4 separate regions of the Homo sapiens genome follow, and all the other regions are linked to region 3. Evidence: promoter capture Hi-C in 16 types of primary human blood cells and fetal thymus (Javierre and others, 2016). All regions are on one chromosome and are shown on one strand. The core of a region is centred on a gene start or on the middle of the fragment in contact, and the rest is flanking DNA. Distances in the headings are between cores, read along the strand shown. Region 1 overlaps RPN2 (ribophorin II). Region 2 overlaps GHRH (growth hormone releasing hormone). Region 3 holds the start of NNAT (neuronatin). Region 4 overlaps RPN2 (ribophorin II).

Region 1 (6,109 bases), core at 585-3,084, 300 kb after region 3:
CACTTTCCCCATTCAGGGAATATACAGAGATGGCAAGAAATCCTTCCTGTCCCGTACACAAACCATAATTATAATAAACCAGGTTGCTGCTTTAATGGATGTACAAAGTGTTATGAAAGCACAGAAGGAACTGTGACCCAAGTCTGCCCATGGGTGGCCCCAAATGGGGAGTAGGAAACATTCCATAGCAAGAAGACTGAGGAGGAGGCTTGATGGGCTTAGCAGCCCTCCAATTTTGGGAGAGGTAGGAGGATTAGCAATAATACTCCATGCTATAAAAATAATCTGTCTTCAGAGTTAACTACTCTGCAATCTTCATCAAGATTAACTAGGTAATTCCCTATTTCTCTAACTCATTCTCTTAAGAACTCATTCATTTAATCTGTAAATGTGATCTTGAAATCATCATCCTACTGAAATGTCCATAAACAGAAGACTAGCTAAATAAAGAAAGATACATGCATATTATTAATTACTATGGAGCAATTAAAAAGAACAGACTAGGCCGGGCGTGGTGGCTCACGCCTGTAATCCCAACACTTTGGGAGGCCGAGGCAGGAGGACCATTTGAGGTCAGGAGTTTGAGACCAGCATGACCAACATGGCAAAACCCTGTCTCTACTAAAAATACAAAAAAATTAGCCAGACATGGTGATGCACGCCTGTAGTCCCAGCTACTCAGGAGGCTGAGACAGGAAAATGGCTTGAACCCAGGAGGCAGAGGTTGCAGTGAGCCAAGATCATGCCACTGCACTCCAGCCTGGGCAATAGGGCAAGGCTCCGCCTCAAAAAAAAAAAAAAAAAAGAATTGTGTAAAGTCTTCAGTGTCTCCTAATGATAGTGATAAGGAAGCTATCAGCTTTTAGGTTTTCACTTAGAATCCTGGCTGTAAACTCTCAGCACTAACTGGCCACCAAGGCCAGCTAATCAGGATCCAGCTTCGTGTGTGTTCTAAAGACATCCTGAGCATCCCCAGACAATGCAGATACATGGAGTGAGCAAAGGGCAAACTGCAGTGAACTTGCATCATTCTTGGTTTGCTCTCAGCCCCAATTTTAAAAGGTTTCCTAAGTTACAGCTTTCATTGTTGCACATAAACACCCGTAGGGCTGTTCCTAAATAGGGAACAGTTTAAAACAAATCCTTCTGCTCCTAAAATCTCACTATAAATGGGTCTCTGGAAACACTCAAAAGCAAAGCATTTTTATGCTACTCTTTTAAAGCAAATTTAGAAATAAAAATCGTAACTTTTTCCAAAGCCCTCTTTTAAAGAGTTCAGTGTAGGATCCCTGTTGATTAGCTGCTTCTTCCTTCCAACTAACAATGCAGGATTCGTTTTTATAATAGGAAAGGGACTTATTTCTCCACTTTAAATGCAGCTAAGCCTGCTTTACACTGGATCATGCTATTCCTTTCTTTGCCTGCACCACATGCCATATACATCTCAAAAAATGTTTTAACGCCAGGAAATGCAGTCTTTCTGCTGGGAGTAATAACACCCCTGTTTAGCTTATTACTGTCAAAAATGATGGTGCATTAGGGGCAATTAATGCTAATGAGAGCGTCCAAAACCGATGCTTCCCCTGACAGCCAGTCCAATGTCAATGAGGGCTATTACAGGACTTCCACACCAAACCACCGTTAATGCACTCTGACCAATGTCGAGCATTTCTTGGGAGGACAAACAGGACCCAATGACCTGCTCTGAGGCTCTAAGTGTGATTATTACTGAAATTACAAAGAAAAGTTGCATATACGGCAAAGGTCAAAGCCGACTCTCTCTCTCTCTCACACTCACACACACACACACACACACAAACACACACACCTCTAATGTAATAAGGAGGAAGAGAGAAGATTTTGTAATGCTTACTCCATCACTAGGGAGGAAAAGGAGAGTAAATGGCCTCAATGGGGGCTTATTATCATTGCATGAACAAGAGCTATTAGCCATTTCTGCTATTTTGTACTTAGATAATTTTTCCAACAATCACAGAAACACTTGGACAAACACCAGATTTGATGTTACAAAATGCCAAGCTGTTACAGTAATCAAGACAGCGTGGCACTGGCATAAGGACAATACAGATTAATGAAATAGAATTATGAGTCCAGAAATCAACCCTTACATTTATTGTCAAGTGATTCCTACAAGGATGTATGTGCCAAGGCAATTCGTTAGGGAAAGAACAGCCTTTTCAACAAATGGGTCTAGGACAACTGCAAAAGAAGACTGGACCCCCTACATCACACCATACACAAAAATTAACTCACAATGAATCAGAAACCTAAGGGTAGGAGCCAAAAGTATAAAATTCTTTTAAGAAAACATAGTAGTAAATCTTCTTAACCTTGGATTACATAATGGCATCTTAGACATGACACCTAAAGCACAAACAACAACAACAAAACATTTTAAAACTGGACTTCATCAAAATTAAGATTTTTTGTGCCTCAAAAGACAACATCATGAAAGTGAAAATACAACCTTCAGACTGTGAGAAAATATTTGCAAATCATGTATTTAATAAGGAACCTCTAACCAGAGAAACCCTTACAACTCAATAATATAAAAAGATAAATAAAAGGAAATAAGAGGTGTATAGATTGTAGAAGGAAGAAAAAAAGACCAAAAACATTTTTTTCAATGGACAATGGATTTGAATAGACATTCTTCTAAAGAAGATATGCAAGAGACCAATAAGCACATAAAGAGATACTCAACATTATTACCTATCAGAGAAATGGAAATCAAAACCATAATGAGACACCACTTTATACCCACTACGATGGCGAAAATCAAAAAGTCAGATAATAACAAGTGTTGGTGAGGATGTAGTAAAATTGGAACCCTCACACATTGCTGGTAGAAATGTAAAATGGTGCAGCTGCTTTGAAAACTTGTTAGTTTCTTGAAAAGTGAAACACCGAGTTACCATATGACGCAGGAATTCTATTCCTAAGCATATACCTGAAAGAACCAAAAACAAGTGTTCAAACAAAAAGTTATATACAAATGTTCACAGCAGCATTACTCATAAGAGCCAAAAAAGAGAAATACCTCAAATGTCATTAACTGATAAGTCGGTAAACAAAATGTGATATATCCATACAATGGAATATTATTTTGCCATAAAAAGAAATAAAGTACTAATACATGCTACAACATGGATGAACCTTAGAAGTATTATGTTAAGTGAAAAAACAAAAAAGCCAGACACAAAAGGTAACCTATTGTATGATTTCATTTACACAAAATGTCCCAAATAGGCAACCACAGAGACAGAAAGCAGAAAGTAGGAAGAGAGAATGAGGAGTGCCCACTAAAAGATATAGCATTGCTCTCCAGGGTGATAAATATATTCTGGAATGGCATTGTGGCAAGGGTTGCACAAGTCTGTGAAAATACTAAAAACACTGGATTGCATAGTTTTGTTTTTTTTGTTTTTTTTTTTAGCAGAGACGGGGTTTCCCCATGCTGACCAGGCTGGTCTCGAACTCCTGATCTCAGGCGATCCACCTACCTCGGCCTCCCAAAGTGCTGGGATTATAGGTGTGAGCCACTGCGCCCAGGCTTTTTGTTTTTTTGAGACAAGGTCTCACTCTGTTGCCCAGGCTAGAGTGCAGTAGTGTGATCATAGTTCACTGCAGCCTCAAACTCCTGGGCTCAAGGGATCCGCTTGCCTCAGCCTCTTAAGTAGCTGGGACAGGTACATGCCACCATACATGGCTAATTTATTTTTAAATTTTTGGTAGAGATGGGATCTCCCTGTGTTGCCCAAGCTTGTCTCTAACTCCTGGGCTCAAGCGATCCTCCCACCTCAGCCTCCCAAAGTTCTGGGATTACAAGCGTGGTGGCTCATGCCCAGCCTGAATTACATACTTTTAATTGGTAAACTTTATGGTATGAGAATTATACCTCAATAAAGCTGTTATTAAATCAATAAATAAAAGCTAACTCTTGGCCGGGCCTAGTGGTTCACATCTGTAATCCCAGCACTTTGGGAGGCCGAGGCGAGGCAGATCACCTGAGGGTCAGGAGTTTGAGACCAGCCTGGCCAACAAGGCAAAACCCCGTCTCTACTAAAAATACAAAAAAATTAGCCAGGCATGGTGGCGTGTACCTGTAATCTCAGCTACTCAGAAGGCTGAGGCAGGAGAATCACTTGAACCCGGGAGGTGGAGGCGGAGGTTGCAGTAAGCCAAGATCGTGCCACTGCACTCCAGCCTGGGTGACAGCAAGATTCCATCTCAAAAAAAGAAAAAAGAAAAAAAAAAGCTAAGTCTGGAAGATGAATTGCCAGAGTTCTGAAGGGCCTGCAATGTGGAAAAACATCTTTAGACCACTCTATCCTTTTCTTCCTCTAAGTAATGTTAAATGGAAACCAAGCACTGAAAAAATAAGATTTAGGCCGGGCATGGTGGCTCACGCCTGTAATCCCAGCATTTTGGGAGGCCGAGGCAGGCGGATCACAAGGTCAAGAGATCAAGACCATCCTGGCCAACATAGTGAAACCCCGTCTCTACTAAATATACAAAAATTAGCTGGGCATGGTGGCGCGTGCCTGTAGCCCCAGCTACTCGGGAGGCTGAGGCAGGAAAATCACTTGAACCCAGGAGGCGGAGGTTCCAGTGAGCCGGGATTGCGCCACTGCATTCCAGCCTGGTGACAGAGCGAGACTCTGTTTCAAAAAAAAAAGAATAATAATAATAATAATAATAATAATATTTAGTTTTCACCCATAGGAGTTCTCAGCCCAGTGAAAAAGCAATGCAGGTGGTGGTTCACGCCTATAATCCCACTACTTTGGGAGGCAAAGGTGGGCAGATCGCTTGAGCCCAGGAGTTCGAGAGCAGCCTGGGCAACATGGCAAAACCCAGTCTCTAGAAAAAAATACAAAAATTAGCTGGGCATGGTGGTGCATGCCTGTAGTCCCAGCTACCTGAGAGGTTGAGGTGGGAGGATCACCTGAGCCCAGAAGGTCAAGGCTGTAGTGAGCCATGATCACGCCACTGCACTCCAGCCTGGGTGGTAGAATGAGACCTTGTCTCAAAAAAAAAGAAAGAAAAAGAAAAAGAAAAAGCAATGCATATAAACAAACAATGGTAATATAATGCAATAAGTACAATTATAGAAAAGGGTGTAAAATACTACAGCAACAAAAATGAACTTCAGATAGACCGAAGCCTTAAATATAAGGGGGAAAACAACTTTAAAAATGTTCAAAAGACACTGGAGGGCCAGGTGCAGTGGCTCACGACTGTAATCCCAACACGTCGGTGGGCCAAAGCAGGCGGATCATTTGAGGCCAAAAGTTGGAGACCAGCCTGGCTAATATAGCAAAACCCTGTATCTACTAAAAATGCAAAAATTAGCCAGGTGTGGTGGCATGCACCTGTAGTCCCAGCTACTCGGGAGGCTGAGGCAGGAGAATCGCTTGAACCCCGGAGGCAGAGGCTGCAGTGAGCCAAGATGGCACCACTATACTCCAGCCTGAGTGACAGAGCGAGACTCTGTCTCAAAAACAAAAATAAAAATAAAAAAAGAAAACATTGGAGAATATCTTTTTGACTTTGGGGTAGCACAGGATTGTTTTAAAGAAGATATAAAAAACACAGTCTAGCAAAAAAACTTGTATTTTATTTATTTATTTATTTTTTTGAGACAGAGTCTGGCTCCATTGCCCAGGCTGGAGTGCGGTGGCACGATCTCAGCTCACTGCAACCTCCACCTCCCAGGTTCAAGCGATTCTCCTGCTTCAGCCTCCCGAGTAGCTGGGATTACAGGCACGTGCCACCACGCCTGGCTACTTTTTGTGTTTTTAGTAGAGATGGGGTTTCATCATGTTGGCCAGGCTAGTATTGAACTCCTGACCTCAGGTGATCCGCCTGCCTTGGCCTCCCAAAGTGCTGGGATTACAGGTGTGAGCCACCTCACCTGGCCCTAGGAAAAGACATTTAAATTAGGCTTCATTAAAATTAAATTTTGTGCTTCAAGAGATGCCATAAAGCAATTCTAGGGGAAGATATCTGATGCTCACAACTAAACATATATCACTCCTAAAAATCAGTAATAAGACTAACAAACCAAAAGAAAACCAGGCAAAGA
Region 2 (6,260 bases), core at 2,539-5,038, 270 kb after region 3:
GATTATTGGTAGATGGTAACTTTGATCAGTTGGTTAACATGGTGTCTGCTAGGTTTCTCCTCTATAAAGTTATTTTTCCCTCTATCATTAATAATCTGTGGGGAGACGTTTTGCAACTGTGTACACTTGTACTTCTGTGCTCTTCATTACTATATATACTGCCTCCCTAAGTGTGGCTGAATCTAATTCAGTTGGGTAGAAGAGTCCACACCAGATATTGAAATAGGCATAGGGATATACCCCTGCCTTTCCACATCCTACCCAAATAGCAACTAGTTCTCTTTTTCTAACCACACAGAGAGAGCAACCAAGAGCGAGGAGCAAGGGCACGGCTTGGTCGTCAGGTAGACAGCATGTGGGCAGAACAAAAGCAAATGGAATTGGAGAGCATCCTGGTGGCCCTGCTGCAGAAGCACAGGTATGGGTGTGTGTGCATGGGTGCATCTAGGGACTTCAGGGCTTCCTACCCCGTGGTTTGCCAGGAAAAGGAAAAAATCCACTCCTCTCTGAAGGTATGGGGCTCTGCCAAACAAACCAAGAACAAGGACCCTCCTGACAGACATTAAGAACTAGGAGAGTGGCTGGGTATGGTGGCTCACCTGTAATCCCAACACTTTGGGAGGCCAAGGTGGGTGGATCATCTGAGGTCGGGAGTTCAAGACCAACCTGGCCAACATGGCAAAACCCTGTCTCTATTACAAATACAAAAATGAGCCAGGTGTAGTGGCTCACGCCTGTAATCCCAGCCACTCGGGAGGCTGAGGCAGGAGAATCGCTTGAAGCTGGGAGGCGGAGGTTGCAGTGAGCTGAGATCGCACCATTACACTCCAGCCTGGGTGACAGAGCAAGACTCTGTCTAAAATAAAAAAAGAAGAAGAACTAGGGGAGTGCCCAGGTGCAGTGGCTCATGCCTATAATCCCAGCACTTTGGGAGGCTGATGGGGAAGGATCACTGGAGGCCAGGAGTTTGAGACCAGCTTGCCCAATATAGTGAGATCCCGTCTCAATCAGTCAATCAATCAATCAATATTAGGAGAGTTCTTTAGTCATGAAGGGTGGAAAGTGTCTGATGGAGACCGCATCTTATCCATGGCTGTATCCCAGTGCGGAGCCAGAGGCCAGGCTCAGTGTCCATGCCCAAAAATGTTACTCACCAAATGGTTCCGTGATACGACCCAGAAATCTGAATTTTAACAGGTGTTCCCAAGGATTCGGCTGCAGGTGAACTGACAGGCATGCTCTGGTTCCCTTGCCAAGTTCAAAAAACTATCAAGCCAAAGACAGACCAGCCCTCCCACACCCTGTGGTAGATGAGTGTGCGCAGACACACGATCAGCAGACGAGAGACGTGATGACTGTCGTTCCCCAGCTCACTGGCCCTCACGTTTCTCCTGGGAGTCTACAGAGGAGGAAAAGTGAGGCAAAGACGGGGCGGCAGCTGGCCCCAAGTCAGGGAATGGCAGGCCCAGACCTGTTTTGCCTCCCTGGAACTTCTTTGCACAAAGCCCCCACTTCATGGGCAAAGTTTCCCAAAAATGTCGTGGTTGTTTGGAGAAACTCTGCTGGGGTTTAGAGCCTGATTTGTTGTTGTTGTTGAGATGGAGTTTCACTCTCATCACCCAGGCTAGAGTGCAGTGGCGTGATCTCGGCTCACTGCAGCCTCTGCCTCCAGGGTTCAAGTGATTCTCAGCCTCCCGAGTAGCTGGGATTACAGGCGCCTGCCACCATGCCTGGCTGATTTTTGTACTTTTAGTAGAGACAGGGTTTCACCATGTTGGCCAGGCTGGTCTTGAACTCCTGACCTCAGGTGATCCACCCTCCTTGGCCTCCCCAAGTGCTGGGATTACAGGCACCCGCCACCACGCCCGGCTAATTTTTTGTACTTTTAGTAGAGATGGGGTTTCACCATGCTGGCCAAGTTTGTCTCGAACTCCTGACCTCAGGTGATCCACCTGCCATGGCCTCCCAAAGTGCTGGGATTACAGGCACCCGCCACCACGCCCGGCTAATTTTTTGTACTTTTAGTAGAGATGGGGTTTCACCATGCTGGCCAAGCTTGTCTCGAACTCCTGACCTCAGGTGATCCACCTGCCATGGCCTCCCTAAGTGCTGGGATTACAGGCATGAGCCACCGCACCCGGCCTAGAGCCTGATTTAACTGCGAGCACAAGCAGGTCCCAGTGTGGCTCTGCTGGGCACTTCTGGTCCAAGCTATTAAGCAAATCCAGTTCCCAGCAGAGCGCTCCATGGCCTCTCTCACCTTCTTCCCAACCCGATTAGACACCACCAGCCCAGAGATTTCACCACCTACAAGCAGCACCAGGCCTACGGCAGATGACAGGAGAGGCGACAACCAGTCTGGGAGGCGGGAAGAACACCTGGGCCCCAGGCCTGTTTCTGCAACTAGCGGCACAGCAACACACTTCTTCGTTTCGACTCTGTGAAAGGAGGGGTTAGCTCTTACCATCTCTAGGGTCCGCAAGACAAGAGTTCAAAAATAATGTCTCTAAGAAGAAGGCCTCCTCTGTGCCTTGCAGGCTGGGATTAAGTAATTGTTCACCTGCTATGGCTCTCATCAGGCCCCAGTAGGGTGGATGGCTCCATGGAGGGCTAATCCTAAGAATGCAGGCTTTGTTCCCGCGAGTTAAAAGCCAGAGGCTTCACGGAGATTGAAATCACAGAGCCCGCAGAGCTGGCAGGAAGGGCCCCGAAGGCTGCTATAGCCATTGTTCCCCCTCCAGCTCAACTGCTGCAAATACCAGGATATCACTGGTGAGCAGGAATAAGTTCCTGCTTTAGAGTGCAGAGTAGAGCCATGTGACAGATGGCACACTTTTGCAGCCATCATACATTGTGTCCACGTAACAGCCCTGTAAGGAAACTGAGGCTCGGGTTTAGCCATCTTCCCACCCCTGTAAAGACCATCCAGTGACTATGACATGCCACACTCTGGACCAGAGGCATAGCAGGGTACAGGACAGCAGCGACCCCTGCTCTCATGGAATTCATAACACACCGAAGCAGCAAGGAACTAGACACGTTCTTGTACAGTCAATTACTTCATTGTGATGAATGGGAAGAGATGCTGGGGAGTGGTGATGGTGAGGCTGGGAGAACGCTGAGCCTGTCTGGGGATTAGAGGAAGCTTCTTCAAGGCGAAGTGACTGGCCCAGGGTCTCGGTGGGAGTTGGCTGGCAGAGCAGAGAGCAGGGGCTAAGCCTGGGACTCGCCTTGCTGGCATGCTTGCGCATCCTTCCCTCCACCCCACACTGCCTCTTTTGGAATCCAAAAGGCCAGCTCCTGTCACGGGAGCACCCGTCACCCTGGTTCCATGCATCCCACTCTAGCCACCCTTACTTCAATTCCCCGGATTGAGCTTGATCTTTCTTTCTGCAGCAGGAACTCCCAGGGATGAAGATTCCTCCTGTGACCCGGGCTACCTGTAGCCAAAATGCAACTGGATCCAGTTAATCCTCTCATTTCTGACCCACTTTTTCCTTTGAAAATACAATAAAATTCCCCCATACCGGTGTGCATTTAAATGTTCTTTTCTCTTCAGCCTAATTTTTTATGTGTTTTACATAGTTACATTTCCCAAAGTGGTATTACGAGGTGTAATTTTTTTTAAAGCTAACATTTACCAAGCACGCAGAGTGCAAACCAGGCAGCTTCATGCATAGGATCTCATATGCTCCTTACACAGGCTGATGGAGGGTACTGGTATCCTCCTCCTTTCACAGACAAGGAATTGAGGCTCAGAAAGTGTAACCAAATTGCCCACAGTCACACCGTGCAAATGAGAGCGCTGGGATTCAAATCCAGGCAAGTCCAACTCAGAACCAGCTCTTAACCACATTCAACTAACTTCGATCAAAGTCATCCTTCACCCACGTGTGATTTGCTCTTCTATAAGCAATACCACTTATTGATTCAACAAACTTTTTTTTTTTTTTTTGAGACAGAGTTTCACTCTTGTTGCCCAGCCTGAAGTGCAATGGCATGATCTTGGCTCACCACAACCTCCGCCTCCCAGGTTCCAGTGTTTCTCCTGCCCTCGCCTCCTGAGTAGCTGGGATTACAGGCATGTGCCACCACGCCCAGCTAATTTTGTATTTTTAGTAGAGATGGGGTTTCTCCATGTTGGTCAGGCTGGTCTCAAACTCCTGACCTCAGGTGATCTGCCTGCCTCAGCCTCCCAAAGTGTTAGGATTACAGGCGTGAGCCACTGCACCCGGCCTTCATTCAGCAAACATTTATAGAATACCCACTCTGTGCCAGGTACTGTTCTGGGCACTGGAGAGATAGTCATGAACAAAGTCCCTGACCTTATAGAGCTTATATTCCAATGCGTGTGTGGTGGGGGAGAGAATAATAAACACAAGTCAATATAGAATATGTCAGATGTTGGCAAGTGCAAAGGATAAAGCTTTAAAGGGCCAGGGAGTGCTGGGGGTATAATTTGATCTACACTGTGTATATGTGAAGGCCTCACTGATGATGTGACATTTGAGTAAAGACCTGAGGAAGAGAGGGAGTTGGCTTTGTAAATATCAGAGTAAAGAACATTTCAGGCAGAGTGAAAACTCAACAAAGGCTTAGAGGCAGCAGTGTGGAAGGACTAGCAAGGGGATCAATGTGGCTACCTGGGCCAGAGCAAGGATGTCAGTGGAAAGAAAAGAGTCCTGGAGGAGCAGGAGGCCGGCTCATGGGGACACTTGGAGGTGTTAAAAAAAAAAAAAGGAACAAATTGACTCTTTAGTGTTTTTTTTGTTTGTTTGTTTGTTTGTTTTTTGAGATGGAGTCTCACTCTGTTTCCCAGGCTGGAGTGCACTGGCACGATCTCGGCTCACTGCAACCTCCACCGCCAGGGTTCAAATGATTCTCCTGCCTCAGCCTCCCGAGTAGCTGGGATTACAGGCGTGTGCCACCACACCCAGCTAATTTTTGTATTTTTTTAAGTAGAGACAGGTTTACGCCAGGTTGGCCAGGCTGGTCTTGAACTCCTGACCTCAGGTGATCCACCTGCCTCAGACTCCCAAAGTGCTGGGATTACAGGTGTGAGCCACCACCCCCAACCCAAATAGAGTTTTAAAGATTGAATTGGCTTTTGTTAGCAGTTCATGAACTGGGCAGCATCCTGAGGGGGACTCTGATAAGCTGAGTGGGAGTGGGCCTTACAGGCAAAAAGGGGCTAAAGAAGCAGAAACAGGGCACGAAAAGCAGATTGGTCATTTCAAAGTTACCTTCCTTCTGGGGTTAAAGCAGAGGGGACTTCCTGATTATGCAAGCTAAAGTAGACTGGACCCCTTCCTTTTTTTTTTTTTTTTTTTTTTTTTGAGACAGAGTCTTGCTTTGTCACCCAGGCTGGAGTGTGGTGGCATGATCTCAGCTCACTGCAACCTCTGCCTCCTGGGTTCAAGTAATTCTCCTGCCTCAGCCTCCCGAGTAGCTGGGATTACAGACATCTGCCACCACGCCTGGCTAATTTTTGTATTTTTAGTCGAGACAGGGTTTCACCATGTTGGCCAGCCTGGTCTCGTACTCCTGACCTCAGGTGATCCACCCGCCTCAGCCTCCCAAAGTGCTGGGATTACAGGCGTGAGCCACTGTGCCTGTCCCAACTGGACCCCTTCTGATTGGCTGCTGTGAATCTCATATTTCAGAAAACTGGACCATTTTAAAGTTCTGTTTGATGACATGGCACTTAGTATGTCATGGGTGACTCTATTCTGGTTGGGTCTGGTTTGTTGGGGCCCGCCTAGTGCAAGAGCTCAGTTCAAAACAGCGGCCTCCCATAAATGTTCTTTAACAAGGTCACAGTAAGGATTTGGATCCCAAACTTGGTGAGATGAAAGCCATGGTGGAGTTTAAGCAGAAGAATGACATGCTGTGACCTATGCTGAAAATCACTCTGAGAAATGGTCAAACTCTAGATACATTCTTAGGGCGGAAGCCATTTGCTGATAGACAGGGTGTAGGGATTGGAGAGAAGTCAAGAATGACTCCTGAGTTTTTGGCCCAAGGATGGAGGATGGGAGGATGGAGTTGCCACTTAGCAGCTTTGGGGGTTGGGGGAATATTAAGAGTTTAGGTTTGAATGTTGAGTGTGAGGTGCCTATGAAAGGTCCAAGTGAGGAAGTTGAGTAGGCACATGGCTGTACAGGTCCTAGTTCAGGAGAGAGTCCCCTGAGTTCAGGGGAGAGGTCTGGACAGCTGGTTTGGCTGGTAGTTGTCACCATTTAGACGGTCGGTCTTTAAAG
Region 3 (6,179 bases), core at 1,144-3,643:
ACAGGGGAGGTACTTTTTTTATTTTTTGTAGAGGTGGTCCCTGTCCTCCAGGAGCTTACAATCTAGCTGGGGAGACACAACTAATGCACACTTAAACAATCAGTACAATTAGCGATTACCACAATATTGACCACAACTGCATGAGACCAGGGAAAAGCAAGATCAGTGAGGGGCAAGGGGGGTTCAGAGAAAGTGTTTTAGTAAAGGTGGGATTCATTTACTTTTACTGCTTGAATAGTTCCAAATCAAGTGACACATTATTTTGGAGTAGGGTGGGCTTGGGAGGCAGTGAGGAGGAAAGGGGAATCGAGAGAGCAAATGCAGCGAGGCTGGAATGCAAGTGCCCTGGGCAAGGGACAGCGAGAGGGCCCCACTGTATTTCTTAACCACCCTCCTTCCTCAACTGTGCCCTCCAGTCCCGCCACACAGGCACGCGGTTGGTGCTGCACCAAGATTCAGGGCGTCGGCTGGCGATGTCAGAATGTCCATTCTGCTGGCTGGTGCGGTGTTTTGATTTCCATGGTGGGGCCTGCTGGCATGGCCCTGGCTTCGGGGCTGGGATGGTGCTGTCCCGACTTTGTCCAGATCAGAATGCGGTGCCTATGCCCAGATCTCAGGGGTCTGCTCCCCCTATCCCCCCTCCTCTCTCGACCCTGCCCCTTAGTGGGACCGGTGCAAAGGGGTTGGGAAGGGATCTGGTATCTTCGTCATTGTCGGTACTGCTTCTCCGGGGGTCTACTGGCCCCTCACTGACCTTGCCAAGTGCTCCTCTGGCGAGGGAACACAGGGGACCCCACATTCCTGCGCGGCACTGGCTCCCGTGCTGGCCGAGATGCACAGGAGCACCTGATGATACGGCCGCCCAGGGCTGGGAGCTGGGGCCTCAGTTGGGGGCTCGCTGCCTGCGCTCCCCCAACACCTGCCGCCCGGTCCGCGACACCGTGTATGCCAGCTTCTGCAGGGAGTACCTGAACACCTGCGACGAGAAACCCAGGACCCACCCTTAGTGGAGAGCACCCACAGCATGTCTGTGGTGCTGCCGTGCCCACCCCCGCCCCACCCCCTGCCCCGCCCGCCCATCCAGCGTAGGCTGGAGAGGCGGGCGCGGGCGCAGCTTGTCCACGAGTCAGGGCAGCTGGAGCTTTTCCAACTGTGCTGAGAGCTGCATGGCGGCAAGCTGATTGGACCCACAACTTAGGTATACCTCACTTCTCGCAATGGGCTGTGTCCCTGGAGGATTTCGAAAAGCGAATCCTACCCAGTAAATGCAGCATTCCAGGAACACCTTGAAGGAAATATGCGATTCCTTTGGCAAAGGATTCCTTTAGCAGGGAATTCTTCCTGCAAAGGGAGCTTTTAGGGTAAATGATTTTATGGGCAAAGCGCTTTCTTCTGATTTATCTCTTTTTACACCAAGCGCTTTTGCCTCTTTTTTATTTTTTTTATTATTATTTTTTTTTTTGTAAAGCAATTGTCCTTTTTTGGAAGTGCTTTTTTTCCCCTTCTATTTTTCTCTCGAGGGGCTTTTTCCTCTAATTTTTTTCTTTAAAGCGTTTTTGCCCGATCCATTTTTTTCCGTTAGCTCCCTTGTCTAATTTTTTTCTGCAGTGCGTTTTTAATCTAATGCATTTTTTTCTGCCAAGTGCTTTTCTCCGATTTATTTTTCCTGCAATGCGCGTTTTTCTGTTTTCCTGTGAACTACTTTTTCTCTAATTCGTTGTAGGGTTTTTTTTTTTTGCGAAGTAATTTTTATTTTTTCTGAGAAGTGCCTTTTTCTAACTTATTTTTTGTTCCACCCCCGCAAGCGCTATATGTTTTTTTAAATAAAATTTCTCCGCAATGCGCAATTTTTTAAGGTGGAAAATTTTCACTCTGCGAGCTGTAAAGTCTTTCAACACAGTAGTGCCCCGCCTCCCTCCTGGGGTCGAGTCCGGGTGTAGCGGGTTTTTCTTACCGCGTAGGTCGCTAAATGCCTGGGTGATCGTCCGCAGCGGTCGCCCGCCGCGCCCCGAGTCTTTGTTCCCTGGCAGGCGCGGGCGCACTAGGGAGGGTCAGCGCGAGGAGGACGGCGCAGGGAATGGGCAGGGGGCGCGCGGTGCCGGCAGCGGCACTTGGGCAGGCAAGGATCGCGGCAATCGGAATAGGACGGGTCCGGGAAGCGGCAATCGCGACGCAGTCTTGCGGGTTCTAGGGGCGCGAGTTGGGAACCCTCTCCCACCCGAAACCCCGTCAGACTTACCTGCAGCAGCACGCGGAAGATGTACCAGCCGATGATGAGCAGTTCAGCCGAGGCCGCCGCCACTGCCGCCATGGTTCCAAGAATGGTAGGTGGGTGGTCGAGAAAGAGGGTTTGCCGAGATCCGCTGGTCTCGGAGTCCGCTGTTGGGCGCACTGCCGCAGCCGCGGTGGCCGCGCCTTAAGTACCCGCCCGCCACCTAAGTGCGCATGCGCGCCTTGGGGGGTGTTTATGAGGAGGGGTGGCTGGGGGCGCTCCTCATTCGCCAGGAGAGGAAAAAAATAATCCATCTGCTCTTTCCATACCGACCCCCGCCTCCTGAGTTCCATCTTAGCCCCCTTCCAGAAGATTCCGCCGTGCTTGCTTTTGGATTTTGCTTTAAAATGGAGGGGTACCACGACTCTGGGTAGAGTACAGGGCGAGAATGGGGGTGCAGGTCTCTTAGTGTGGCGCCCTTCTCCCCAGTCCCTGGCCTGCAAATTTGAGCTCAGTCTCCGGTGCCACTCCAAAGCCTACCTTGGGGATGGATGGAAAACCGAAATTAGGGAGGGGTCATCTGCCCCATAGAGCAAAAAACGTGGTGCCCCTTTCAGAAGCTTTGGCATAATAGGCCCGTGCTCGGCGCTCTTTTCCTGATACTGAATGAGTTTTAAGCCCAGGTCCTCTGCTTCATGAGGGTGCCTGAGCGCGTAACCCGTCTGATTCTTTACATCTCTCTTACGGTAGCGAGGAGATGAGAATCTGCGGTGGAGGTCGCTACTGTAGGGAGCTGAGCCAGAGCACTGCGCTTTGGGCGCAAAAGCAGTAGTCACCCGGTATCTGTAGGAGGGATACAGGAAGGATTGGCGCCCTTCGTATGCACGGAAGGAATGAGCTCTACGGAGAAGTGGTTGGAATATGCTTGGGGATAGTTTTCTGCTGGACAGGTCGTTTCGACCTCAGTCTTCCGCTCCCCTCCCCCAAGCCCTGGTAGGTCGGCCTTAGCCAGTGGGGTTCTTTGTACCCGTTGCGCTGTGCGGCTGGATCACCGAACGGGGTTACGCTACCGCTACCGGAGGGTTGTGGCTACCGCAGCCCCGTTTCCAAGTGAGGCGGGTCCCTTTTAGACCGCCAGTCTTGTGGGTCCCTCGCACAGCGCGGATTTTCGGGCGGGAAGACCGGAATGCGGTTTGTGAGTGTGGTCCCCGCGCACCGGTAGCCAGCCGAAAGCACCTCTTTCCAGCAAGCTGCCTGGCCCAGGGACCAACTGGCATTTGCCCCTATGTGGATAGAAAATTAATTTTCATTAAAAGCTCCCAGAGGTCAGGTTCTATACAGTGCCAGCAGCAGATGGAGGTGTAATGATCCAAACGAGTTCAGTTTGGACAAAGTAGCATAGTGACTTTTTTTCTACATTGACTTTCGGAGAAGTTGGCAGATTCTGGCAAAGTGACGCTGGGCTGTTTGAAAAAGGCAAGCTTAGCCTAGGCTGCCATCTTAAAATATTTCGAGGCTGTAGCTGCCTCAGGATCCTTTGCCTGTGGTCTGGTGGCCGGCAGTGCCCCGCTAACAGCTTTAACTCTGCACTTAGTGCCTGAGCACCTATGGCTGTGAGAGATGCTAGATACAGAACCCTGTCCTTACCACGTGGGGGCACAGCAGGGAGCCCTTGGTCGTCCTTTGGCAACCACTGGGCGGTATTGTGAGGTCTGGGCCCCTTGAGGACGGGCTGCAGCCCCAGGAGGCGATACATGATCTCTGCTGGGCAGGGCCCAGGCAAAGCCAGCCCACTGTGTGAAACCGTGCCAAAGAGCCCTCTCCCCGATCCCCCAGGAGAAGCCCCGGGGAGACATCCCAGGAAGCTTCCCGAATTAGTGACTTGGAGAGGAGTAGAACTTTCACGGGTGGGCAGGGAGGAAAGGGCATTTCACATTTGCTGTTGTTAACCATGATCCATTTTCCCAAATAAGTATACATTCTGTTCCTGTTTTTTTTTTTTTTTTCTTTTTTTTTTTTTTTTTTTGTCTGTCTGTCTGTTCTTTGTCTGTTTGTCTGTTGTGTTGACTTTTCTCTTCAGGATCCCTGCTGCCTTGGTGATCCCGGGCTGACAGCCAGAGAGCACAGCGGCTCAGCTCCTGGAGAGTGAGGGTTGAAGAAAGCGGAGGGCAGCCGCCTGCGCCCGCTGGCTCCCATTAGGTCGGTTCCTGCAGCGGTGCCCGGCAGCCTTGGTGAAGGCCCTGCCCGGCAGAGATCATGTATTGCCTCCAGTGGCTGCTGCCCGTCCTCCTCATCCCCAAGCCCCTCAACCCCGCCCTGTGGTTCAGCCACTCCATGTTCATGGGCTTCTACCTGCTCAGCTTCCTCCTGGAACGGAAGCCTTGCACAATTTGTGCCTTGGTTTTCCTGGCAGCCCTGTTCCTTATCTGCTATAGCTGCTGGGGAAACTGTTTCCTGTACCACTGCTCCGATTCCCCGCTTCCAGAATCGGCGCATGATCCCGGCGTTGTGGGCACCTAACGGCCTGCCCTGTTAGCTTTCCAAGGAAGCAGAAGACGGGAGGGGAGGCATTGACATAGGTCATAAAGCATTGGAGTTTCAAATCCCGCAGCCTCGCGGGTGTCACATTCCTGACGGCGCCTTTTTGGCCTGTGATGTTTTATCCTTACAATGTGAATAATGGCACTGACCGGTGCTTTTATTGTAAAGTCCTATAGTCGTGGGTGGTCTTGTGGTTGTGTGTGTTCTGTCCCCATCTAGGTCCTGGCTGGCCGCATGACCACCCCTCTCGCCTCATTACTGTGAGGAGTCTGGGTCCATCCTGGTCAGCTGCCCCAATGTGACCTGGGGCAGATAAAATGCCAGTCTCATTGTCACCTCTGTGACCCCTCCTTGTCAGGGTCTCCTTCCTTCCCAGAATGTTACTGACTCCTCAGTCCCTCTTCTGGTTTCCCTTTATTTCTCTTCTACCCTTTTCCTTTTTTGGGGAGTACCTGTCCAAGACAGGGCTCATTTTTGCACTTATCTCGAATTTGAAGAGATTGCTGACGCCCGAGAGCCTCGCTTTTTCATCCTTCTTTCCTTGTTCAGCAGGCTAGACAGAAACATGTCTTGACTGTTAGTTGTCCACAAATCTTCAGTATTTTCTCCACTTCATTTTTAAGAAAGGAAGCAACAGATAGATGTTGCTCTTTCACCTGGGTGTCTGGGCTCAAGCTTTCCCGCCCAGCCTCACTTCCTTTGCCCTTCCTCCTGCCTTTCTCAACTGTCCCAAGGAGGGGGCCTCATTGTGTCTCCCGTGCATGCTCTGCAGCATTGAAGTATGGTGTGTTCACGTAGTTCTAGCAGTCCCCAGCTGAGTGAGTGGGAGAGTACCTGTGTGTTTCGTAACGGCCTTGATCCCCTTGATAGATGTTTGGATATTTTTTGGTGTGCCCTGTGTGTGTGTGTGTACAAATACATGTGTATATTCCTTTTAAAGAAGCTTTATCGAACGTGGTCTGATTTTGAGGTTTAGCAATAGCTAGCTATATATGGTAGGTGCCGCTACAGTTTTTATTTAGCATGGGGATTGCAGAGTGACCAGCACACTGGACTCCGAGGTGGTTCAGACAAGACAGAGGGGAGCAGTGGCCATCATCCTCCCGCCAGGAGCTTCTTCGTTCCTGCGCATATAGACTGTACATTATGAAGAATACCCAGGAAGACTTTGTGACTGTCACTTGCTGCTTTTTCTGCGCTTCAGTAACAAGTGTTGGCAAACGAGACTTTCTCCTGGCCCCTGCCTGCTGGAGATCAGCATGCCTGTCCTTTCAGTCTGATCCATCCATCTCTCTCTTGCCTGAGGGGAAAGAGAGATGGGCCAGGCAGAGAACAGAACTGGAGGCAGTCCATCTAGGGAATGGGACTGTGAGGCCATACTTGTGAAACGTCTGGACTGCTATTCTAGAGCTTTTATTTGGTGTGT
Region 4 (6,525 bases), core at 2,693-5,192, 320 kb after region 3:
CCCCACATGATCCATGAGCTTGTAGGTGGCAGCCACAAATAACGCTGTTGTTTCCAGTCCTTCTTCAAACTGGAGATACACGCCCCCGAGTTCATCCAGGCGAGCAACAAGGTCCTGCCATAACAAAACAGAAATATGCTGGATGTCAAGTAACAGCAGAAATGAGATGCACGAACCACTGTCAACCCCACTGCAGACAGCTTCGTGACATCTCTCACTCTAAATCTGAAGACCATCTCAGTCACTTCATACTTTCTCAAAAATGGTGCTTAGGCAGAGTAAAGTATATCAAACAGACATTTGAGGAGAGCACTATCTTCTGCAGTTTTGGGAGGGCTCCTTCCTTGGCCCCTTGTATGCAGGCCCAAGCCCAGGAGTCATGGCACAGAACACGCCAGCTGCTTTGGGTGGAAAGCCAGTGGGCCAGGCTGCTGTGCACCCAGGAAGCATCATGACACAGATGGAGTCCATGGCCATCCATTTGAATACAACCTACAAAGCACAGCGTTTCCCAGAATTTCTTAATGCTCCAAAAGACAAAGAGAGACATACTGCTCTCCTAGGCAACATGACTAGGCAACCAACGTGCCTGTGAAGCATCCAGTGAGAACACCATCAGGACTGCTTGTCACTCCTGCCAGGCAGTCCATGACAGAGGTCCCAGAGGAGCATGATATTCTGGGCAAAGGCAAGGATAGAGCAATAATAAAAACCACAGTCACCACGTCCTGAGGACCTATTATGTAATAGGCACAAATATTCCTCAGGACACAATACCTTAATACAAAGAACACAAGTGTGCCATGGATATAAGAAGCAATGTAACCTGTAGTAACAGATCATGCATGGCTATCTGCAAGATTCTTCTGCAGAGTGTCAAAGACAGGAGCTGGGAGATGCATTTGGCAAAAGATTCACACCTCAATCTCCTCCACGATGCTCCTCAGGTCAGCCTGCTGGGACAGGTGGGATGCTGTCTGCAGAGCCTGGACTGTTCTGGAAGGTAAAGAGTAGAACCCCAATGAATGGCAAGTCTTGTTTCATCCACTCACCCCTTCCCGTACTTGGACACTTTCACAAATATCCTACTCTTGTTCTTTAGAAGTACAAGTTGGTCTCAGCCTTTAAGGAGTTTACTTATAATCCAGTTAGGACAGATGTGACAAAACCTGGAAAAGATCATCACAGCTGAGAAGGCAACCCAGGCAACAGAACTGGCAAGAAGAACCGTGGGCATTGGGCTGGGCGCAGTGGCTCACGCCCGTAATCCCAGCATTTTGGGAGTCTGAAGCAGGCAAATTCCTTGAGCCCAGGAGTTCAAGACCAGCCTGGGTAAGATGGTGAAACCCCACCTCTACTAAAAATACTAAAAATGAGCCAGGTATGGTAGCGTGTGCTTGTAGTCCCAACTACTTGGGAGGCTGAGGCCCAGGAGGCAGAGGTTGCAGTGAGCCACTGCACTCCAGCCTGAGCAATAGAGTGAGACCCTGTCTCAGAAAAAAAAAAAAAAAAAAAAAAAGATTGAAGCAAAATTCACATAAAATTAACCATTTTAAAAAGCAAACAATTCAGGGGTGCTTACTACATTCACAATGTTGTGCAACTACCACCTGTCTAGTTCCCAAATATTTCCATCAGTCTAAAATAAAACCCATTGGTTGAGCACGGTGGCTCACACCTGTAATCCCAATACTTTGGGAGGCCGAGGCAGGAGGATCACTTAAGCCTGGGGGTTCGAAACCAGCCTGGGCAATACAGTGAGACCTCATCTTTACAAAAAATTTAAATATTAGCTGGGCATGGTGGCACATGCCTATAGTCCCAGGTACTCAGGAGGCTGAGGTAGGAGGATCACTTGAGCTAGGGAGGTTGAGGCTTCAGTGAGCTGTGATTGCACCACCGCACTCAGCCTAAGTGACAGAGTGAGACCCTGTCTCCAAAAAAAATAGATAAAACCCACCGAGCAGTTTCTCCCCATTGTGTCTCCCCTTAGCCCTCAGCAACCAGCAATCTATGTTCTATCTCTACGGATTTGCCTATTCTGCTATTTCATAGAAATGGAATCATACAATCTGTGTCCTTTTATGTCTGGCTTCTTTCACTCAACAGAATGTTTTCAAGGCTCATCCATGTTGTAGCACGTATCTGCACTTCATTCTTTTTTATGGCTTATTCATATATTTTTATCTATAATTCTGGAAGATAAGCTTTTTAAGATGGAACATGATAGATGTATACATGTAAGACTTATTAGATTCTATTATCTTAATACAGATAATTTGGAAAATATAAATGGTGCTTTTCTGGGTGAAACTGGGAGAGGAGAGGCCCCCTGGTGGTTAAACAGATTGCTGCTTCCACCCCGAATGGTTTCCTAATTCCTAAGAGATGACTGGGCCCTTGTGTAAAACCACCACTTATCAAGTCAATATGTCAGGGAATGTAGAGCAAGAATCTGTCTGCTTATGTCAAGAACATAACAATTTAGATTCTCTCCATGGGAAACTCATTCCATTAAGATGACAAGTTGGAAAACAGCAGAGTCGCAATTTACAGAGAGACAAGCCCCAGAGTATTCAACGACACCTATGGGATGCTTGCTGTTATCATACACTTGAGAAAATGAAACCTGAATTTCCAAACAAGACAAAAATCACACATCTGCCCGTGATAAACGCTGTGCTCAGAAAAGGCAGTTAAGATAGCCTAGAAAGAACTTCTCAATTAAGATATCATTTTTTTCTCTTTGGAATGAGAGAGTGCCGTGCTGGTAACAACCTCAGAAGTTTTAGAATGAAATTAATCCACTGAGTTTTAGAAAGTTTTGTCACTGGCTTTAATTACTTATTCCCCAGCCAGCAATTTCTTTTTCTCTGGAGCATAGTACTGTATTCGAACACTAAGAAAGCAGATCTTATCTTGCTAATATATAGCAGATGATTCAGAGAAATTGATTTATGACAGACTACAATGAGATCTTCTCAGGTGGTTCATTCAAATCTACAAGTATTTTCTTTTTTTCCATTCAAGACAAGTTTACAAATATACACTTCCTAGAAAAAGCCCATTTAAATATAGAAGGCCCATTCAGAAGAGTTCTAATTTATATCAGCTTGCCTTTAATAGCGCAAATTAGTAGTAATATAAGGCAACCTACCAGTTGGATTTCACAATGACCCTACGAGACATTCTCCAGGTTTGCATATGAGAACACTGAGGTTTAGGCGGGCTAAACAACCCACTCATGGTCACAGAGGTTGAGTAGAAGAATGGATTTGAACACAGTTCTTTCTGCTCCAAAGCGTATGTTCTTCCTACCTATGAGCTTTCTACAAGACAACAGAAACACAAAAGTATAGTTTCATCCTTTATTAACTCCGTTGGGTACAGACCATGTGCCAGGCTCTCTAAGCACTGCAAGTAAAGCTTATGGCTGGGTGTGGTGGCATGTGATTATAGTCCCAGCTACTCAGAAGGCTAAGGTGGGAGAATCGCTCACGCCCAAGAGTTTGAGGTTGTAGTGAGCTTTAAATATGATCGCATTGCACTGCAGCCTAGATGACACAGTGAGACCCTGTCTCAAAAAAAAAAAAAAAAAAGCTTATGACCTAACATACAAATAACAACAACGAAGGAAGTAACAAACTCTCTAAGAAGGGGGACCTGTTTGTTAGGGACCTAACAAACAAATGGTCCAGAAAAGGAACTCCGTTTCCTACACGCCCACCAAGAACCAGGCACTGCGCTAGGGTCTTCACACCTATTATCTCATTTAATCCTGTCAGTTGCTTTGATGTAAGAATTATGGGTTTCATTTTAAAGGCAAGGCTCAGAGAAGTTAGAAATTTGGCCAAAGTCAGACACAAGGAATGAAATAGCTGGTGTTCAAACCTAAGTCTGTCTGACTCCAAAGTGGACGTACTTCCCTTGTACTTCTTCCTGGGGTTCTGGGGTTTTGAGGAAGGGGATTTTCCCTTCTGCTTGGAAGGAAATGGGAATTTTTTTTGTAGAAGGTAGCATCAAAGTAAGGCACAGGCACTAACAGTGGCATCATGGCATGAGATGATGGTGACTGGAGAAGCATTCCCCATGAGGGATTAAAAGCAGATATCAAAATATGTCACCTGAAATCAAAGGCCCAAAAGGGCCAAGCACTGGACAAAGTGTGTACAAAATGTCAGCCCTAGAGTCACTGATGATTGACCATGTGAATATAGGGAGGGTGTGAGGAGGGACAGAGAGGGAATGTCAATTGCCTGTGAACCCTGTCCTTAACAAAGCTTTAAGTTTACAGAAAATCTGGTTGTCAGCAAAAAAACAAAAAACAAACAAAAAAACCTGGGAAACAATCTCACTGTTTTGAAAGGGGGATTTGGTATCACCAACCTCTTGCTAAACAACGAACGGGATTCCAGAACGGTGCTCCACACCCTCCTTCAGGGTTTGCAGTGAAACGGTGAACACAAATAAAATGACAAAAAAAATATTGTTTTAAAGGAGCAGTTTAAGTGTTAAAAAAAAAAAAATTACAACCGGCCTGGACAACACAGACAGGCCCCATCTCCACTAAAAACTAAAAAAATTAGCTGGGCAGCCGGGCGCTGTGGCTCACGCCTGTAATCCCAGCACTTTGGGAGGCCAAGGCAGGTAGATTGCTTGAGGTCAGGAGTTCAAGACCTGGCCAACATGGTGAAACCCTGTCTCTACTAAAAATACAAAAATTGGCCAGGCGTGGTGGCGCGCCTGTAATCCCAGCCACTGAAGACGCTGAGGCAGGAGAACTGCTTGAACCCGGGAGGCGGAGGTTGCAGTGAACTGAGATCGCGTCACTGCACTCTAGCCTGGGTAACAGAGTAAGACCACGTCTCAAAAAAAAAAAAAAATTAGCTAGGCGTGGTAGTTTGCACCTGTAGTCCAGCTACTCGGGAGGCTGAGGTAGGAAAATCACTTGAGCCCAGAGTTCAAGGCTGCAGTGAGTTTGATCATACCATTGCACTTCAGCCTGGGTGACAGAGTGAGATCCTGTCTCTAAATAAATAAAAATTTAAAACTACATATATTATCACTTAAGAGCTTAGCAAAAAACACCCTGAAGTTACAATATTTCCATTTATAACAAATAGGAAAGGTGCTTCTCCTTCACCTAAGCCTTTTGCAGAGTAGTAGAGTCTGATTCCTAGAATACTCCACCCTCTGAGCAACCACCTCACCCACCAGATGCTGTCTTTCACAACTTCCAGGGATCCTGAGAGCCCCCACTTTGCAGAGCCTCCACTGCCAACATGTCATCCTGCCCTAGCCAAGCCTCAACAAGACATGCACGTGGCTCCTTCTCAGTTATCTGCCCTTGCTCTAGCCCTCCAACCGCACAAGGCAACTGGATCTCTAGGTGGTGGTGTGCTCATGCTCTGGCTCAGCGCTTGCCTTCTGTCTGCGAGGCTTGCAGAAGACTGTGTCCATGTGAGCTCCACGAGGACACGGACCTTACTTGCCTTCATGCAATCATGTCTGCGGTGCCTTGCAGAGCACCTGGCACACGGAAGTATTTACTGCAAGTACTTGCCCAGAAAGTATTTGCTGAACCAATGAATGAGCCCTCTTCGGATAGGACCCGAGACAAATGAAGCCTGAGAAATGCTCGAGATGACAACTCACGCCAGCACAGTCTCCTCCTTGCTGAGACGAGCAGTAAGGGCACTGAGTGCTTCTTGGGATGCCAAGGGAAGGCCAAAGCCACTTAGAGCTGCAACTGCATGGTAGATCTGGGTAACAGATGAGTCCTCACTGACAGCTGCCAGAAGCAGATCTTTGGTCTCATTTGAAATAGAGATCTAAGAAAGAATTGGCAGACACAGAGTTTTAGAACAGGTCTTGGCAATTTGTGGCAGGCATGGCAAAGACAGAATGCGGAGCAGCTGCCAAAGTCACCTCCGCCTCGCACATGCTCATCCCCCTCTAATCCCCAGACACCAGGATGAAATGTTTGCAAAACTTCGGTACAACACTCCCATGTGAAAAGATGCTGACAAGTTACCTTTCTACTTATATGGTTCTCCTATGTTCAACAAAATGACTTCCAGAAACCTCGTGTGGGGGTACACTTTGAACATTTTTACGTGTTAAAGGCAGATGGAAAGGAAAAAATCAAGACCTACCAGAAGAAAAGCAAAAACTGTACAAAAAGGTTATTTAAAACCCTTGAAAAGTAAAAACTTAGGAGAAACATAAACTATACTTTCTTAAGGAAAAAAAAAATCACAGGAATGGAATTCCCACTCACAATAATGGACTCTCATAATTAAAAAAAGGATGTTTGACATGACTCCTCCCCTTTAAAAATGTACTTTAAATAGTTAAAGTCATTGTCAGCGTAGGAACCCGGACTCACCTCACATCCTGAGAGGGCCTGGCTGGCCTGGGCAGCGTAGAAGAGGGAATCCACATTGCTGGGATCAAGGTTAGATCTGATGTAGGTACATGCTTTCTACACAGTGGGGAAAAGTCAATGTTAAGTGGTGACACATG

Evidence for each region. Contacts are between HindIII fragments. The CHiCAGO score rates a contact against its expected background, and 5 or more counts as called.
Region 1: a contact is called between a fragment that was not itself captured here and the fragment with the promoter of NNAT in region 3, in 7 of 17 cell types (monocytes, M1 macrophages, M2 macrophages and 4 more). The highest score is 8.2, in monocytes.
Region 2: a contact is called between a fragment that was not itself captured here and the fragment with the promoter of NNAT in region 3, in 8 of 17 cell types (M1 macrophages, endothelial precursors, M0 macrophages and 5 more). The highest score is 10.5, in M1 macrophages.
Region 4: a fragment that was not itself captured here is called in contact with the fragment with the promoter of NNAT in region 3 in 17 of 17 cell types (monocytes, naive CD8 T cells, activated CD4 T cells and 14 more); the score reaches 20.5 in monocytes.

The regions. Positions count from the first base shown.
Region 1 is chr20:37,215,892-37,222,000 of GRCh38, reverse strand. The region is part of intron 9 of RPN2 (ribophorin II); the gene reads right to left. Among named protein-coding and RNA genes, the nearest start is that of MROH8, 39 kb to the right of the region's middle. The HindIII fragment of the contact is 3,903 bases long and covers 1-3,785 here.
Region 2 is chr20:37,248,368-37,254,627 of GRCh38, reverse strand. GHRH (growth hormone releasing hormone) reads left to right here. Exons shown (of 5, transcript NM_021081.6): 4 at 299-418; 5 at 3,397-3,542. The coding sequence ends at 3,415. Among named protein-coding and RNA genes, the nearest start is that of GHRH, 10 kb to the left of the region's middle. The HindIII fragment of the contact is 1,281 bases long and covers 3,148-4,428 here.
Region 3 is chr20:37,517,464-37,523,642 of GRCh38, reverse strand. It overlaps NNAT (neuronatin), which reads right to left and starts at 2,393. Exons shown (of 3, transcript NM_005386.4): 1 at 2,240-2,393; 2 at 1,205-1,285; 3 at 1-976. The coding sequence starts at 2,311. The coding sequence ends at 884. BLCAP (BLCAP apoptosis inducing factor) reads left to right here. Exons shown (of 2, transcript NM_006698.4): 2 at 4,293-6,179. The coding sequence starts at 4,469. The coding sequence ends at 4,732. RefSeq lists enhancers at 3,321-4,184, 4,185-5,048. The HindIII fragment of the contact is 15,256 bases long and covers 1-2,834 here.
Region 4 is chr20:37,198,356-37,204,880 of GRCh38, reverse strand. RPN2 (ribophorin II) reads right to left here. Exons shown (of 17, transcript NM_002951.5): 3 at 6,389-6,484; 4 at 5,656-5,831; 5 at 921-996; 6 at 1-114. Among named protein-coding and RNA genes, the nearest start is that of MROH8, 22 kb to the right of the region's middle. The HindIII fragment of the contact is 680 bases long and covers 3,603-4,282 here.